Regions from separate parts of the Homo sapiens genome. Here all the other regions are linked to region 2. Evidence: promoter capture Hi-C in human tissues and cell types (Jung and others, 2019). All regions are on one chromosome and are shown on one strand. The core of a region is centred on a gene start or on the middle of the fragment in contact, and the rest is flanking DNA. Distances in the headings are between cores, read along the strand shown. Region 1 overlaps ZNF664-RFLNA (ZNF664-RFLNA readthrough). Region 2 holds the start of DNAH10OS (dynein axonemal heavy chain 10 opposite strand). Region 3 overlaps ATP6V0A2 (ATPase H+ transporting V0 subunit a2). Region 4 overlaps ATP6V0A2 (ATPase H+ transporting V0 subunit a2). Region 5 overlaps ZNF664-RFLNA (ZNF664-RFLNA readthrough). Region 6 overlaps DNAH10 (dynein axonemal heavy chain 10).

Region 1 (2,700 bases), core at 47-2,546, 210 kb before region 2:
ACCCAAAGGGAAATTTTAAAACACAATGGGAACTTTACAAAAGATGAAATATACAATACAAATAAGCATGAAAAACAGCCCCCCTCTGCTTTCAGGGGAAATTAATTACTCCCAGGTCCACAGCACATGGAGTTTTCTCCAGCCTGCCTGTCTTCAGCAGGGCTGTTCCCTCTGCCTGCCGCGCCCCTCCCCTCCCCATCTGGCCTCCTCTTGCAACGGCCCCCTTGTCTCCTGGGAAAAGACTCCCTCCAGCCATCATGCTTAGGCCGCATGAGCCTCCTCTTATTCCTGTTATCTCATTCGTCATGCTGTATTGTAATCACCTCTCTCATTAGCCATCAAGCTCTCTCAACTCAGGGTCCATGACTTCATCATCATTTTACTTCTAGTGCCTGGCATATAGTAGACAAATAACTAGGTCTCACGTGATAAATGGTCTACCAGGTACTTTTAGGGAACACAGAACCCATGTTTCCTGGGTCTGAAAAGAGAAGTCACGAAGACTGGGCTTCACTTCCCAGCCCTCTTGGAATGCAATCCCTCCGAGTGAGGGATTTCTCCTCGCATAGACACGATCGCCTTGCAGACTCTGCAAACCTGGCTCCTCCAGTTCTCTACAGCATGGAGGCTCCACAGTGAGGCTTATTCACCCGGACACACAATTCACATCTGTTCCTAACAACGGGCATCAAGTTGGCAGCTCAGCCCTGCCATGGGCCACAGTGATAACCCCTGCTGTGTTTCACCAAATAAACTCTGGAACTCTGGAACCCAGAGACCCACCGAGCTGGGACACCCTACCTGAGCCGCAGACACCTCTCCGCAAGCAGACAACTCGTCCAAGGACTTTCCCACATGGCAGCAAGCCTGTCAGCTTCTGCTCGTCAGCATGTGTCTTGCTCTCCAGCCCTAAGTGCTCTTCAAGGACAAAAAAACCTCTGCAAACACAATCACCTCGTGCAACACTGTGGTCCGTGAAGACTCTCACCAAGTGCGGCCTGGAAAGGAGAAAAGGTGATGAGGACAAGGTGAGCTCAGGCAGCTGCTTTGTCAGTGACTTTTGAGCACCTCATAAGTATCAGTCAGCAGTGGCCACAGTGATGCTGAGTAACAAACGTATGGGTGGACACACAGCCACTGCTGAGACCGGGGGTCCCAAAGCCAAGTGCTGGACCTGTGGCTTGTTGCTTCAACCCTGGGAGGCCCACGGAGTTCTGGATGTTTGGGGGGTGCACTCATAAGCAGAAAATCCAAGCCTCTAGTCTGGCTCCCCTGGTTCTGGCTGTTACCCCATTACAGCTTCCGGACTTCAGCAGAGAAGAGCGAATTCTTTCCTCTCCCCTTACACTCTCTGGCTCAGGAAGCAGTGGAAAGATGTAGGGGTCCCAGAACCTCCCTCAACTGGTCCAGTATTCCTGCGACTGCCGACCAGACATAAACTCACCAAGTTTTTTACAAGCTTGTCCCTTCCTGGTGAGAAGCTCCCCAGATATAACAACAGAAACAGACCTATCAGGTTCTGCCAGGAAGAAAGAGCCATGCGTAAGTCAGACCTTGTGGCTCCTTCAAACACTCGGAGGCAACATTAATCTGGATTCTTGGATGAAAGGTCTAGCTTGCCTTGCCAGTTCATTTGTAAACTGGACAGCCAGAAAGCACCTCCGAGCGTGGAGACCCACTGCTCCACTGAAGCTTTTAGGGCGGCAAGGCCTTCTTCAGTAGTCTTTCTGTCTTTCTTTCAGCTGCAAATTCAGCAGCAGCATTTAATAAGAAAAACAGAAGCCACAGGAAAAAGGGAGCTCCGGAAACAACATACGGTGCAAAACCCTTTAAGTTTCAGCTGCTCCCAGTTAGAGGACACTCAACTGCTCCAGGCAAGAGCCCGACAAGGGGCCAGTTGACCAGGGAATTAATGAGCAACAGGAACACGACTCCCTTGGGAATGTTCTCTGCAAACCAGGGACATAGACGGCTCCAGGGACCAGCTGCCCCTCTCTCCCCTACATTGGCCTCTTTTTCTTCCTGTCCTTATTTCCTCCTGCCCACTCCCCTCCTCTTCTCACTGTTGCTTCCTCCTGTCCCATTATTTCCTTCTTCTCCTTTGTCAGTTCTTTAGTCCTCTTAGGGGACATCCCTCAAGCATTGCAGACTGTGTGCCATTTAAGGCCAAATACATCCCTGTCTAAGACAAAGAGAAGAATAATTAGTTACAACGGGCTGGGCATGATGGCTCATGCCTGTAATCCCAGCACTTTCGGAGGCCAAGGTGGGTGGATCACCTGAGGTCAGAAGTTCGAGACCAGCCTGGCCAACATGGTAAAACTCCGTCTCTAGTAAAAATTTAAAAAATTAGCCAGGCATGGTGGTGGGTGCCTATAATAATCCCAGCTACTCGAGAGGCTGAGGCACAAGAATCGCTTGAACCTGGGAGGCGGGGGTTGCAGTGAGCTGAGATCGTGCCATTGCACCGCAGCCTGAGCAACAAGAGCCAAACTCCATCTCAAAACAAAACAAAACAAACAAAAAAAGTAATTATAACAGCAGCCACATTTGCTGAGTGTTTATTACGTGCTAGGCACTGTTCTAAGCGTTTTGCAGTCACTAGGTCACTCCTCCAAAATGGCCTACAGATGCAAACTTCCCCTAATGCTATCCCCATTTAACACATGAGGCAGAGGGAGAGAGCAGCCTCATTCAGAT
Region 2 (2,700 bases), core at 193-2,692:
TTATTTTCTAAACCTGCCTTCCTTCTGTTTTGTGTCTTTTATTAAACAAACACCTGAAGGAGGGCTAGGAGACTGCAGGAGGGAGAGCAATCACAGGTCCCAGAAGCGACTCCGGCCTCCTCCCGGCCCAGAGCTAGTCCTTAGAATGTGCTGCGCTCCTGAGCTTCTGTGGGAAGCTGCTTTTGCCTCTGATGGCCCCTGCCCACTGTGCTGCCCGTGCTAGCCCCTCTCCTCCCTCATGGAGTGAAGCCACCCCTCACCTCCAGGTGGCCAGCCAGGGCTCCAGGCCAGCCTCATGGTGCACAGAGGGAAGGGGTGCCCAGTGACCACTGGTCCTGGAGGTTCTGTGTCCTTACCTGACCCCACACAGACCCAGGCAGGCTGGGGGTAGAAGCTCATGCAGGAACTAAACACTAAGCTCAACAACTTCACAGTCGCCGTAGCAGGTCAGAGCCAAAGAAGCTAGGGCCAGAGAGTTCTGGAAGGGGGAGAAGTGGCTCCAGGTGACTGGTCACTTCTGCTCTGTGCCCGACATCATCAGCCCTTCTTGCCAAAAAGGAGCATCTGCTGAAACAGACCTGGATCATCGAAAACACACCTTTGGAAATTACATTAGGATTCTCACTTGTGCCAATGCTATGTATGCCAGGCACTTTTGCCTAATCAAGTGTTTTCTCTGAGAAGGAAAAGAAAACTCCACACATCTTAAAATACTCTCCAATATTTACTTTTTGATTATATAAATTCCTTTTAAAAAGTAGTATTAAAAACAAAACCATTCAGGTTAATTTGTATGGAAAGAGATTTAAGTGGCTGATTTCAAATGAAAAATCAGTGTCAGTCCCCCTCCTGCCTCTTGAGAGGCCCCAAGAAATGACAGCAGACCCGATCACTCTGACAACCCCAGGCTCCGAATTCATTAAGCAGTTTTCTTCACCCAAAGGTTAATCAGAATTCAGGGTGAGGCATACTCCTTGCAGCACCCAGTGAGAAATGTGCCTCGTGGTAAAGAGATCAGCTTCAAAAACCAAGCCGACTCCCATGGCGTTCCTTCTCATGGAGGTGGTGTAGACGGGGGTCCGGAAAGTATTCTGCAAGGGAAAGGCAGGTGAGATGCCCCCACGGAGAGAGGGTGCAGAGGGATAAAGGCAGAGGTGCAGTGTAAGTCTTGACAGGCAGGGGCCCCTGTGCAAGACTGCACCTGAGAACACGCACAAGGCTGGGGCTGCTCAGGGCCACCCTCCGCCAGCTTCACGGGGACCTGGCTTCACACTGACACCCTGGTTAAAAGTGGGTCCTGGCCCAGGCAGAGCAGAAGACATCTGCTGTCCACACCAGCGGGAACCACTTTATGACTCAGGCAATGTCTGCAGCATTTTGCAAGAAGGGAGGGAGTCTCCCCTTGGTTAGTCTAGACCACAGGATCACAGCTTGAGCCTGACACCTCTGGAAGGACCGGCATCCACACACACATACAGCCGCGCCTTTTCCAGGAAGCAGCTATCCGTAGCTTTTATCACGGCTCCAAGACTCTCCCCAGCCCATAAAGCTTAGGCACCCCTGTTTTAAAAAGTAGGACTGTTGGAAACCACCTCAGCCATAACTACAGTCAGAAGAGGAAGGGCCCTGGTGTCAGAGAGGAGGGGCTGGGACCTTCACCTGCAGCTTGAGGCGATGGGCTTCAATGGGGATGATCTTCAGGATCGGCAGGTCCACAACCAGCACCTTGGGTTTGCTCTTGATAAGACATCCTTTTTCTATATCCCAGTCAGCACCTTCCAGGTACAGTCCTGAGACAAAGCATCCTAGGGACACAAGGCAGAGACTGGATACAACTGGAGCATGCACAGCCTGCCACGGAGTGGCTCTATCAGGCGCACACACAGCGACACACAGGCCACTGGCTGGCCTCCTCCCCAGCGCATTGGGGACAGCCCAGGCCCTTCTCCAGCATTTCTGTCCTGCCCACCTTCCCTCTGTGGAGGAGCAGCCCAGACAGGAGACCCTGTGGCCCTGCCCCATGGCCCAGAGAAATGGGTGTGGGGCGGTGGCCTCTCCCCCAGGAATCCTCATTCCTGGGGCATCAAGGCCCACGGACTTAGACCACCCTGGGCCCCCAGGCTAGAAAGATGCATGGTCCCAGAGTCAGAATGGGCACCATGGCAACCCCAGCTACCCTGTGAGCCGAAGTGGCTGGGGAGCAGGAAGTCGAAGCCTCACAGAGAAAGTGGTCTCCGGGGAGGAGGACCCAGCAGATGTGCAAAGAGAGGAACACACTCCTGTGGCCCCAGAGAGAGTGGTGGCCCGGACACCTGCCACCTCCCCTGCCACTGAGACCTGGAGAGTCCCTGCATCTTTACCGTAAGTCCCCAGTCCTTAAGCCATCTCAAAAGAGCTTTTGTTCCTTGCAGTTAAAAGAACTCTAAGACAACATGGACCCGGGGAAACAGCAGTTTCCAGCTCTCATTTGCACAGTCAGTAACCAATGTCTAAGGGACCTGAAGTTCTGGCATAATCAAAGAGTTCCAACCAAGTTAGTCCATGCTGCTCTGTGGCTCCCATGCCCCTGGCCCCGTCAGGGGTTACAAGAAAGCCACCTGATGGTTTTTGCAAGAGCTAATTCTGACCTAGGAGCCCACTTGCCATGAGCTAGCAGAGTGAACATGGTTCAGGTCTCCCCTGCCATAGACCCCAGGTCTC
Region 3 (2,700 bases), core at 155-2,654, 220 kb after region 2:
ACAAGCTTTGTCCTTCAGTTGACTGTCTGTCATTTTCCCTCCACTTCAGTGAGAATGTCAAGGCTTGATTTGATAATGACTAGTACCAGACTAAGATGGTAAAGACTTTAGAGATAAAAGAAGTGGCCCTGGGCTGCTTAGTTGAAATGGTTAACAATCAGCACTGATCTAACACACTGGCAAAGGAAGCCCTGAGAAAAAGGAAATTATTGTCAATCACTCTATCTTCCATTTCCCGCCTCCCTTGTTCCTTGAAAAAATTTTAAATTAAGTAACTTATTAACAAGTACAATGTTTTTAAGTTATAATAAACTACAAGGGATCGGTTAAATAAGCCACAGCACATTAATATTAATACAATCAAATAGTATGCTGCCATCAAAAACGATGATGGGTAAATATCTATGTCTACTGACACGAAAAGATGTTATAGTAAGCACTGTTAAGTAAAAAACAAGGGTAACAACAAAATAACCAGGCCATTATGTTTGTAAATTTTTACTTTTATAGATGAATAAAAAAATACAGAAAAATAATACATGCCTACATAACTGTGATTACTTCTGAATGAGAATACAATTTCTTTTTTTCCTTTCTGCTTGTCTATATTTTCCAATATTTTTAAACCGAACAAGGTTTGCCTATATAAAGGTAATTATTTAAGTTGTTAAATCAGAAAATAAACTTACCCAATATTCGCTCTAGCTCTTCACACCTCTTCACCTCACCAACAAATTTTCTTTGGAAAGAACTTACGTTCTGGTTGAGCTGAGAAAAGGATGAAAAATATGGTTTAAATTTCTAAAATTTAAAAATACTTTTATGTAAAAAATAAAACATCACCAAAGTTTGGGGGATGTACACTCTTGTATACTATTGAATGAAACTATAAACTGACACAACTTTTCTTGAGAGCAATTTGTCAACTGTTACCAAAAAAGCCTGAAAATCCAGCCGGGCCAACACGGTGAAACCCCAACCCTGCTAAAAATACAAAAATTAGGCCGGGGCGGTAGCTCACGCCTGTAATCCCAGCACTTTGGGAGGATGAGGCGGGCAGATCACTTGAGGTCGGGAGTTCAAGACCAGCCTGGCCAACATGGTGAAATCCCACCTCTACGAAAACACAAAAATTAGCCAAGCATGATGGCAAGTACCTGTAATCCCAGCTACTCGGGAGGCTGAGGTGGAAAAATTGCTTGAACCCAGGAGGCGGAGGTTGCAGTGAGCCAAGATCGTGCCATTTGCACTCCAACCTGGGCAACAGGGCAAGACACTATCTCAAAAAAAAAAAAAAAATTAGCCAGGCATGGTGGCGCACCTAAGTAATTCCAGCTACTTGGAAGGCTGAGGCACGAGAATTGCTTGAGCCCGAGAGGCAGAGGTTGGATGGAGCTGAGATCACACCACTGCAATCCAGCCCAGGTGACACAGTGAGACCCTGGGTCAAAAAAAGAAAAAATCCTGAAAATGATTATTTGCCCAGCAATACCCCATGAAGAAAATTTAACCTAAGGAAAAAGCTATGGAAACAGATGAAAATCTATGACAACATCAATCTCAGGGAAAAAGAAAAAATGATAACCCAAAAATCCAACAATAGAAAACTAGTTCAAGAAATTACAGTAGCGTAGTTAAAGAAATTATAGCCAGGCACAGCAGCTCGTGTTGATAATCCCAGCAATTTGGGAGGCTGAGGTGGGAGGACTACCTGAGGCCAGTAGTTTGAGGCCAGCCTGGGCAACATGGTAAGACACCATCTCTCCAAAAAATAAAAAATTAGCCAGGCCTGGTGGTGCACGCCTGTGGTCCCAGTTGCTCAGAAGGCTGTGGCAGGAGGATTGCTTGAGCCCAGGAGATCGAGATTGCAGTGAGCAGTGATCACACCACTGCACTCTAGCCTGGGTGACAAAGCAAGAGCCTGTCTCAAAAAAAAAAAAAAAAGAAAGAAAGAAAAGAAAAGAAATTACAGTCTATATCCACACAATGGAATGCTACTTAGCAATAAAAAGGAATGAACTACTGACCCATGCAACAACAGGGATGACTTTCTCTTTTTTTTTTTTTTTTTTTTTTGAGACAGAGTTTCGCTCTGTTGCCCAGGCTGGAACGTACTGGCAGTATCTTGGCTCACTGCAACCTTCGCCTTCCAGGTTCAAGCGATTCTCCTGCCTCAGCCTCCCGAGTAGCTGGGATTACAGCCAAGTGCCACCACCCCCGGCTAATTTTTGTATTTTTAGTAGAGATGGGGTTTCACCATGTTGGCCAGGCTGGTCTCAAACTCCTGACCTCAGATGATTCGCCCACCTCGGCCTCCCAAAATGCTAGGATTACAGGCGTGAGCCACCACGCCCACCCTGGATGACTTTCATACTAAGTGAAAGCAGCCAGACACAAGAAGCCACATACTGTGCGATTCCACTTACATGGAATGTCCAGACAACCCTAGAGGCAGCAAGCAGATTAGTGGGTGCTGGGGGGGTGGGGGTAGGAATAAGGATTAACTGTAAATGAGCATTAAGAATCTTCTGGGGTGATGGAATGTTCTAAAACAATTGTGGCAATGGATGCATGACTCTATAAACTCTTTTTTTTTTTTTTTGAGACAGGATCTCACTGTCGCCTAGGCTGAAGTCCAGTGGCGCAATCTCAGCTCACTGCAACCTCTGCCTCCCAGGTTCAAGCGATCCTCCTGCCTCA
Region 4 (2,700 bases), core at 183-2,682, 180 kb after region 2:
AACTGCAGGTCTAAGCAGGAACTTACGTGCGTGAGCCAGGCTAAGCGCCCAGAGCCTCAGGTAGGAGGCGGTGTTGGAGATGCATCCCAGACAGTACTCGATGGAATGGATTACTTGGGTCATTAATATTTCTCCAAAATTAAACTGAGAGAGATCACACAACATATGTTAAGAGTCATGATGTTACATGTGTACTTCTACATGCCAAGTGGGTTCCACTTCAAGGATTACAATGAAAGAGCTGCCGGCTGGATGCTGGTAAGAACACGCTAGAGTGTGAGGAACAGAAACCCCAGACGCACTCTGTTCACCACTCTGCCACTACCCAGCTCCATGACCAGACTTTACCACCCCAAATCCCCACCTTCATCAGCCCCACTCCCACCGCACGCCTCAGACTCCCCTGTGTAAACCAAGAAGGTAGACCAGAGGAACTGCCGTGGCCACAGCTGCTATACTAATGGGATTCTGGGGCAGGTCTCAGTAATTATGAAACATCTACTGATAAAATAGGTATTCACCAACCCTAAGAGTAGACTGCGATTCACTAGATGTGAGCATTCTAAGTAGAGCCAACCAGGGAAAACTATGCAAGGGGCCCCTGACAGGGAAAGGGCTGCAAAGCACCAGGCAAGGTGACTCTCATGCGCTTTCCAGCTCTGCTTTTGTTTCTCTATGATCCTAGAACTTAATTATTAATTGTCCCGAATTAAAACACGAAATTACATAATAATTACAAAATGTTGATTATAAGACATTTTGTTTGGTCCTCACTAAATGGCCAAAATAAAGTTTCCATGAAAAGAAAGGAGGCCATGCTCTGCTGTCTTCCTGGGACTGCACCTCTGTTCTTTGCGGGGAGCCGCTACTTCCCTGTCCAGCCTCGTACCCCCAACCACACTGGCTCTGAATTATGTTCCCAAAAGTCTTATGCTGAAGCCCTAACCGCAATGTGACTGTATTTGAAGACAGAACCTTTGAGGAGGTAATCAAGGTTGAGTGAGGTCAGGAGGTGGGCCCTGACCCACTGTGACTACTGTCTTCTGGGAAGAGCAGGAGAAACAGGGGTGCAGGCACAGAGGAAAGGCCCTGTGCCGACACAGCAAGCTGAGCAGGGAGGCCTCAGGGGAAAGCAGCCTGCCAGCATCTCAGTCCGGGCCTGCCAGCCTCCGGGGCTGTGAGAAACAAGTCTCTTGTTGAAGCCACCCAGTCCGTGGTATTTTGTTATGGCAGCCCCAGCGGACTAAGATAGCAGTCACTGGTCCAGGGGACTGAGAACGCAGTCATTGGTAAAGGGGACTAAGGCAGCAGTCACTGGTAAAGGGGACTGACACAGTGGTCACTGGTAAGGGAGACTGAGCAGACACCGGTCCAGGGGACTCAGGCAGCAGTCACTGGTAAAGGGGACTGACACAGTGGTCACTGGTAAGGGAGACTGAGCAGACACCGGTCCAGGGGACTCAGGCAGCAGTCACTGGTGAAGGGGACTGAGGCAGCGGTCACTCGTAAAGGGGACTGAGGCAGCAGTCACTGGTCCAGGGATGGCAGGTATTTGGGGATTCTTTCCTAATAGTAACAAGCTGGTAAGGGCGCTTTGCTCTCTAATGGAAAGACTGAAAAAATAAGCCCAGGGCAACTTGTGACCATGGTTCTAGCATCATGGGGCCAACTGACTTCACAATATAAAGAAAACTTACAAAGAAAAAAAGCCAACCAAGGCCTCTTGGAATTGGAGACCCCAAAACTGTAATTATCCTGAAACCAACTCTACCTCTGTCCTGCCATGAGCCAGTAAAATCCCTTCGCAATCAGAAAAAACTGGGTCTCTATTTCTTGCAACTATGGAAAAGTTCTGACTGACCCAAGAAGCTTCTGAAAGCAATGTTCATGGCACCTTAAGTCACTCCAATCATAACTCTTAATATAACAGCAGAAATCCCACTGGCGAAGTGAAAGGACAAAATGACCCGAACTCATATAATGCCACCAACTCTATCATCAAACAGCATTTGGAAAGCGCTGGTTTCTCATAGTTGTGGAGGCTGGAAGTCCCATTTTCTTAACCATTTTTTAAGATGATTAAATATTATCTTAACATGATTATCTCTATGGAAGCTTGGTTACTTATCTAAGTTTATCAATAGCAGTTGAAAAGATTTACCTCTTCACACGCCATTTCTCTACATCCATCTTCCACCTGGTGATTTCCCTCTTCTATATCTTGGCTTCCCAGCAATGAAACTTCTTCCTCACTATCTTTCCTTATAAGTGTGTAGCCACTCTAACAACCAAAAGAGCACAGAGTCAGTGCCTGTAAAACCACAAGGTTGTGACAAAACCAAACTTGTATAGTTTCTTTGTTTCTCTTAATGATTCAGCTCTTTGAGAATAAAAAAGTTCTTTAGGCTAGGCACAGTGGCTCACACCTGTAATCACAGCACTTTGGGAAGCCGAGGCAGGTGAATCACCTGAGGTCAGGAGTTCAAGACCAGCCTGTGCAACATGGCAAAACCCCGTCTTTTACAAAAAATACAAAAATTAGCAGGGCGTGGTGGCGGGCGCCTGTAGTCCCCCTATTTGAGGGCTGAGGCAAGAGAATTGCTTGAACCCGGAGGGCAGAGGTTGCAGTAAGCTGAGATAGTGCCACTGCACTCCAGCCTGGGCAACAGACGAAGACTCCAGTCTCAAAAAAAAAAAAAA
Region 5 (2,700 bases), core at 26-2,525, 190 kb before region 2:
AGGCTCATGTCAGTAATCCCAGAACTTTGGGAGGCCAAGGCAGGCAGATCACTTGAGGTTAGGAGTTCAAGACCAGCCTGGCCAACATGGGGAAACCCTGTCTCTACTAAAAACACAAAAAATTAGCCAGGCATGGTGGCACACACCTGTAAACCCAGCTACTCGGGAGGCTGAGGCAGGAGAATCACTTGAACCCGGGAAGCGGAGGTTGCAATGAGCCGAGATCATGCCACTGCACTCCAGTCTAGGCGACAGAGCGAGACTCTGTCTCAAAAACAAATAAATAAATAAAATAAAGTAAAATAAAATAATTACAAAATAAAGAAGTCTTTTTAAAGAAGAATGATGCCACCTGAGGAACAAGGGAACTGGGGTATTTATACACCAACTGCTTAGGGCCATTGGTTGAGGGTTTCTTGGGGGCAGTGGAACCCCCAGCACTTCCAGCTGCTGGCTGGGAAAAGTGGTCTTCCAGGGTGCAGGTGTTTGGGAGTTGAGTTGAGCATGATGGCCATTGGAGAGATATGGGTTGGACCCTGGCAGTGTCCACTACAGACTCTCACTCTGAGAAGCAGCCTAGGAACATTCTAGAGACCTGAAGATTCCTTCCTTGCTGTAGAGCCTTCCCAAATCCATTTCAATATAACCCCAATGCACTCAACCATCCAACAATGACCCCTTCCGGAATGTGTACATCAGGAGGCAGAGAATGGAGTCTTCTCTGTTTTCAAAATAAAATTCAGTATAATATTCAGTCGATGGCCAGGCACGGTGGCTCACACCTGTAATCCCAGCACTTTGGGAGGCCGATGCAGGCGGATCACTTGAGGTCAGGAGTTCAAGATCAGCCTGGCCAGCACGGTGAAGCCCCGTCTCTACTAAAAATACAAAAATTAACTGGGCGTGGTGGCACATGTCTGTAATCCCAGCTACTCAGGAGGCTGAGGCAGGAGAATTTCTTGAACCTGGGAGGCGGAGGTTGCGGTGAGCTGAGATCACGCCACAGCACTACAGCCTGGGTGTCAGAGTGAAATTCCATCCCCCACCTCCCCCGAGAAAAATCCTGTAGATAATGATTGGCGAGTTAAAAACAAAAAGCAAAAAGTACCTCCATGCATTAGTAATTCCATATAAGCATATGAGTTTGACCTAAATTCAACTGTAATGATCTGTGACAAGAAATTGGTGTTTCCTTCCACTATAAATCAAAGAAACAGCCCTCATTTCATTCTCGCATCCACAGACAGTAACACACTGTGCTATCGGCTTACCTCACACAGCATCAGGGGCCCCTGGCTCCCAAACGTACAGTCCTTTCTTAGGAAAAGTCACCTCTCTTGTGGATCCGATGGTACATTTATTTTGGAAAAGAGAGGGAGTTCATTATCCATACTCCCAACTTCTGTTTTAAATTATTGCTCCAGCCTTACTGGCAAACCTGTCAGGTATAAAGGGACTCACAGCTAAGTGTGTAAATAATTTTTTAAATTCCACTGGTAGTGATTTGGAAATAAGAGGGGTTTTATTTTCCCTTTTCTTTTTTCTTACTTTTTTTTTTTTCCTTTCTGCTAGGATTACTAAGGAATTTAACGTTGTTTTAATTTGCAACACAAGTCGAGTCTATGAAAACCCCTCATGCCCAGTATATGAAACCTGCACTTTACAGCATCAGAAAGCTTTAGGGTATTAAGTAATTGATTTAATTAATCAAGCAAGTAAGTTTTTTCCTCCTCTAGCCCCACTCTGAATGTGGAAAGGTTCTTATAAATATCCAAGAATGTGGAGACATGGGGTAGATCCATGAACCTAGAAAACCAAGGTGACTCATACAGAGGCACTAATGGGCAAACACCTGGGGTGCCCAGGTTTAGGCAAATTTGAGAGTTCTCGATATTTTTATTTTATCATAATCGGGTTCACTGATCCAGCAGACATTGGGCATGTTGATTTTCTTCCTAAACAGCCCCCAGTTTCCCTCCAGGGACCCACACCCAAGAGCTCTCAGAGAAGGGGTTCAGATGGGGCCCCACCCAGGCAGCAGGAACCCAGGGACCCACAGCCATGTGATTGGCTCAAGGGTTGACACATGACTCCACAGGAGCCAATGAGAATGCTGGAACCCAGGCGCCAGTTTTCTTTCTTTTCTTTTTCTTTTTTTAAACGGAGTCTCGCTCTGTCGCCCAGTGTGGAGTGTCAATAGCGCGATCTCAGCTCACTGCAACCTCTGCCTCCCAGGTTCAAGCGATTCTGCTGCCTCAGCCTCCTGAGTAGCTGGGACTACAGGCACATGCCTCCATGCCCTGCTAATTTTTTGTATTTTTAGTAGAGACGGGGTTTCACCATGTTAGCCAGGATGATCTCGATCTCCTGACCTCAGGTGATCCACCCGCCTCGGCCTCCCAAAATGCCGGGATTACAGGCGTGAGCCACCGCGCCCGGCCCGGTTTTCTCTTTTCTTCCAAGAGCGGGCACTGGTGCTGCCATCTTGTGAGCGCCTGGTGAGACTGGTGCTGCCGGTGGCCACAGGAGAAGCCCAAGAACAGACTCAACATGGAGAAGATGGGGACAAGAATTCGAGAGAGGCTTCAAACCACATCCTGATGACACTGTTGAGGCCCCTACATCCAGCTGCACCCAAAGCCTGCAACTTTGGCCAAATAAGGCAATAAATTATGTTAGAGCTTAACCTCGTTGGATATT
Region 6 (2,700 bases), core at 151-2,650, 150 kb after region 2:
TAGTGTCGGGAGATGATCCACACCATCCGCAGGGCACTCATCATGGCGGGGATGGTGTCCAGGACCACGTGGAAGCCAGACCCGTGCGTTATGTTCTGACCAAGAGAGGAGAGAGCCACGCAAGAGCCCTTAGCCTTGGGGTCCAAATAGTTTCATAAAACAGTAAGCATGCAAGAAGTTTCACTCTTTTTTTTTTTTTTTTTTCCTTGAGACCAAGTCTGGTGCCCAGGCTGGAGTGCAATGGCACAAACATGGCTTACTGCAGCCTCGACTCCCCTGCGGACTCAAGTGATCCTCCCACCTCAGCCTCCCAAGTAAGCTGAGAATACAGGCATGCACCACTACACCGGCTAATTTTTTATTTTTATTTTTGTAGAGATGAGGTCGCACTATGTTGCCCAGGTGAGCAGACTTTTTTTAATCTCTTATAATAATAACTCAAATAAATAACGGGCAAAAGATTAAAACAGACATTTCACCAACAATATGAAATTGACAATAAGCACATTAAGTACATAAAAAGTTGTTCAGTCTCACTAGTTGTTAAGGAAATGCAAATTAAACCACAATGGCTATTATCAGAAAGACGATAACAAGTGGTGGTGAAGATACGGAAAAACCAGAACCTTCGTGTATTGCTCTTCAGAATGTAAAATGGGACAACCACTTTGGAAAACAGTCTAGAAATTCCTCAAGAGGTTAAACAGTTACCATATATGACCCAGCTATTCCACTCCTATGCATAATACATGAATAATTAAAAACACACATCCACACAAATCCTTGTACAAGAATGTTCGTAGCAGCATTCTTCATAATAGCCAAAATGCAGAAACAACTCAAATGCCCACCGACTGATGAATAGAGAAACCAAATGTAGTCTATCCATGCTATGGAATATGATTCTGCCACAGAAAGGAGTGAAACACTAACACGCTCCACGCTACAACACAGGTGAACCTTGAAAACCTGGTGCTGAGTGAAAGAGACTGCACACAGGATCAGTCCTGCATGACTCCCCTTATATGAAGTCCCTAGAGTAGTCAGATTTACAAAGACAGAAAGCAGAACAGAAGTTACCAGGGACTTAGGGTAAGGAAGAAGGGGGAGTTAGTGTTTAATGGACACAGAATTCCAGTTTGGGAAGATGAAACTGTTTTGGAAATAGTGTAATGGACACACAGCATTGTGTATGTATTTAGTGCCACTGAACTGTATGCTTAATAGTGGTTAAAATGATAATATCATGTCATGTCTATTTTATCACAATTTTTTAAATTCTGAGGTTTTTTTTGAGACAGGGTCTCGCTATGTTGCCCAGGCTGGAGTGTAGTGGCGCAATCTTGGCTCACTGCAACCTCCATCTCCCAGGCTCAAGCAATCCTTCCACCTCAGCCTCCTGAGTAGCTGGAACTACAGGTGCACACCACCATACCCAGCTAATTTTTGTATTTTTTGGAGAGACAGGGTTTTACCATGTTGGCCAGGCTGGTTTCCAACTCCTGAGCTCAAGCGATCTGCCCACCTCAGCCTCCCAAAGTGCTGGGATTACAGGCATGAGCCACTGCTCCTGGCCAAATGCTGAACATTTTTAAAAGGGAAATTAAATCATATGAAATCTCTTTGACAGAGCTGACTGCAAAGTGCAGCACACCCAGCATACCTTGAAATAACGCTCCACGGTGGAGAGAAAGCGCACATTGTCTGAGGCCTCCGTGTGGAACTTGAATAACTCGGTGAACACTGGCTGCAGATTAGCCACAAGCATGGAGTCGGATTCCTTGATCACATCCAAGACTTTTCTGACTATTGGAAGCTTTGTTTGTTCATGCAGCGCACTTAAGGTTGCATTTCTTTCCCTCCAGAATTCAATTTCAGCCAGAGGGCCTTTACCCTGAGAGGTGAAATGAACACACAAAGAACTCTCATTATTAGGGTGGAGCAGACACTTATGGTGGTTTCTCCAGCATCCGTTCTTTCTGTCCAACTGCTCCAATCCTTCAGGGTCTTCAGGGGTGGGCTCTTGACCCTGGGTGGTCCAATCATAGTGAATCTCAGGGCTCCAGCTGAGAATGCTAGAAACACACTCTGCCTTTCTCCGGACAACTGAGGTGTACAGAATGTGAGGCCAGAAACTGCTGCAAGGAAGCCAGCCTGAGGAATGAAGCTCTCCAGCCCCTAGAAAGGGGTCTAGAACTGAGAGATTCAGAAATATAGCCAGAGCCCTGATCAGACTGGACCTGAAGCCAACCCTGCCTCTGGACTTTTCCATTATGTGAGCCAAGGAATTTGCTTTCTTAGTTGATCGACTTGAGTTGGGTTTCCTGTTTTTGGCAGCCCAAGCTTCCTGACTGATCCAAAGTGTTATCTTTATCAATCCAGGCAGTAACCTGGTAGCACATTAACATCAGAAAGCCCAGAAATGATATTTTGGGTGTGTTTATTTTGATGGCTTAAGGAAGTCATAAAACAGTAAGAAAAGATGCCAGATGATGCAGACCCCAGACTCCGGGCTCTTTCCCAGCATGGTAAGCATGACCTGGATCGGGGCTCTCTGAAAGCCCTGCACAAACTACCTGAGGTGTCTTCTTCAGTTGGGCCTCAACCGCTGTGGATATCTGATTCAGCCAGTTTATCACACACTGCTCCAAGATGTCAACGGTTTCCGGGTCAGCTGCCAGGTCAGACACCTCTCCCTCC

What was found. The method cuts DNA at HindIII sites, captures the fragments that hold promoters and counts their contacts. A contact is called where the count stands out against the background at its distance.
Region 1: a fragment that was not itself captured here is called in contact with the fragment with the promoter of DNAH10OS in region 2 in 3 of the 25 tissues and cell types used here (bladder, mesenchymal stem cells and pancreas).
Region 3: a contact is called between a fragment that was not itself captured here and the fragment with the promoter of DNAH10OS in region 2, in 2 of the 25 tissues and cell types used here (hippocampus and mesenchymal stem cells).
Region 4: a fragment that was not itself captured here is called in contact with the fragment with the promoter of DNAH10OS in region 2 in 4 of the 25 tissues and cell types used here (dorsolateral prefrontal cortex, lymphoblastoid cells, mesenchymal stem cells and 1 more).
Region 5: a fragment that was not itself captured here is called in contact with the fragment with the promoter of DNAH10OS in region 2 in 2 of the 25 tissues and cell types used here (mesendoderm cells and thymus).
Region 6: a contact is called between a fragment that was not itself captured here and the fragment with the promoter of DNAH10OS in region 2, in 6 of the 25 tissues and cell types used here (bladder, dorsolateral prefrontal cortex, heart right ventricle and 3 more).

What each region holds. Positions count from the first base shown.
Region 1 is chr12:124,147,893-124,150,592 of GRCh38, reverse strand. It overlaps ZNF664-RFLNA (ZNF664-RFLNA readthrough), which reads right to left. Exons shown (of 5, transcript NM_001347902.2): 3 at 802-998. Among named protein-coding and RNA genes, the nearest start is that of RFLNA, 150 kb to the left of the region's middle. The HindIII fragment of the contact is 4,759 bases long and covers 1-2,700 here.
Region 2 is chr12:123,933,726-123,936,425 of GRCh38, reverse strand. It overlaps DNAH10OS (dynein axonemal heavy chain 10 opposite strand), which reads left to right and starts at 1,442. Exons shown (of 2, transcript NR_187476.1): 1 at 1,442-2,361. It overlaps DNAH10 (dynein axonemal heavy chain 10), which reads right to left. Exons shown (of 79, transcript NM_001372106.1): 78 at 1,660-1,805; 79 at 712-1,091. The coding sequence ends at 945. It overlaps CCDC92 (coiled-coil domain containing 92), which reads left to right. Exons shown (of 5, transcript NM_025140.3): 5 at 1-800. The HindIII fragment of the contact is 2,982 bases long and covers 1-2,486 here.
Region 3 is chr12:123,716,691-123,719,390 of GRCh38, reverse strand. It overlaps ATP6V0A2 (ATPase H+ transporting V0 subunit a2), which reads right to left. Exons shown (of 20, transcript NM_012463.4): 2 at 690-768. All of the region lies in intron 1 of LOC105370042 (a long non-coding RNA gene), which reads left to right. Among named protein-coding and RNA genes, the nearest start is that of ATP6V0A2, 5.7 kb to the right of the region's middle. The HindIII fragment of the contact is 3,053 bases long and covers 1-2,700 here.
Region 4 is chr12:123,751,864-123,754,563 of GRCh38, reverse strand. It overlaps ATP6V0A2 (ATPase H+ transporting V0 subunit a2), which reads right to left. Exons shown (of 20, transcript NM_012463.4): 17 at 2,162-2,281; 18 at 27-144. Among named protein-coding and RNA genes, the nearest start is that of DNAH10, 9.1 kb to the left of the region's middle. The HindIII fragment of the contact is 4,485 bases long and covers 1-2,700 here.
Region 5 is chr12:124,119,490-124,122,189 of GRCh38, reverse strand. All of the region lies in intron 2 of ZNF664-RFLNA (ZNF664-RFLNA readthrough), which reads right to left. Among named protein-coding and RNA genes, the nearest start is that of ZNF664-RFLNA, 150 kb to the right of the region's middle. The HindIII fragment of the contact is 4,377 bases long and covers 1-2,700 here.
Region 6 is chr12:123,783,141-123,785,840 of GRCh38, reverse strand. It overlaps DNAH10 (dynein axonemal heavy chain 10), which reads right to left. Exons shown (of 79, transcript NM_001372106.1): 7 at 2,577-2,700; 8 at 1,664-1,894; 9 at 1-95. The region is part of intron 4 of LOC105370044 (a long non-coding RNA gene); the gene reads left to right. Among named protein-coding and RNA genes, the nearest start is that of DNAH10, 22 kb to the right of the region's middle. The HindIII fragment of the contact is 4,104 bases long and covers 1-2,700 here.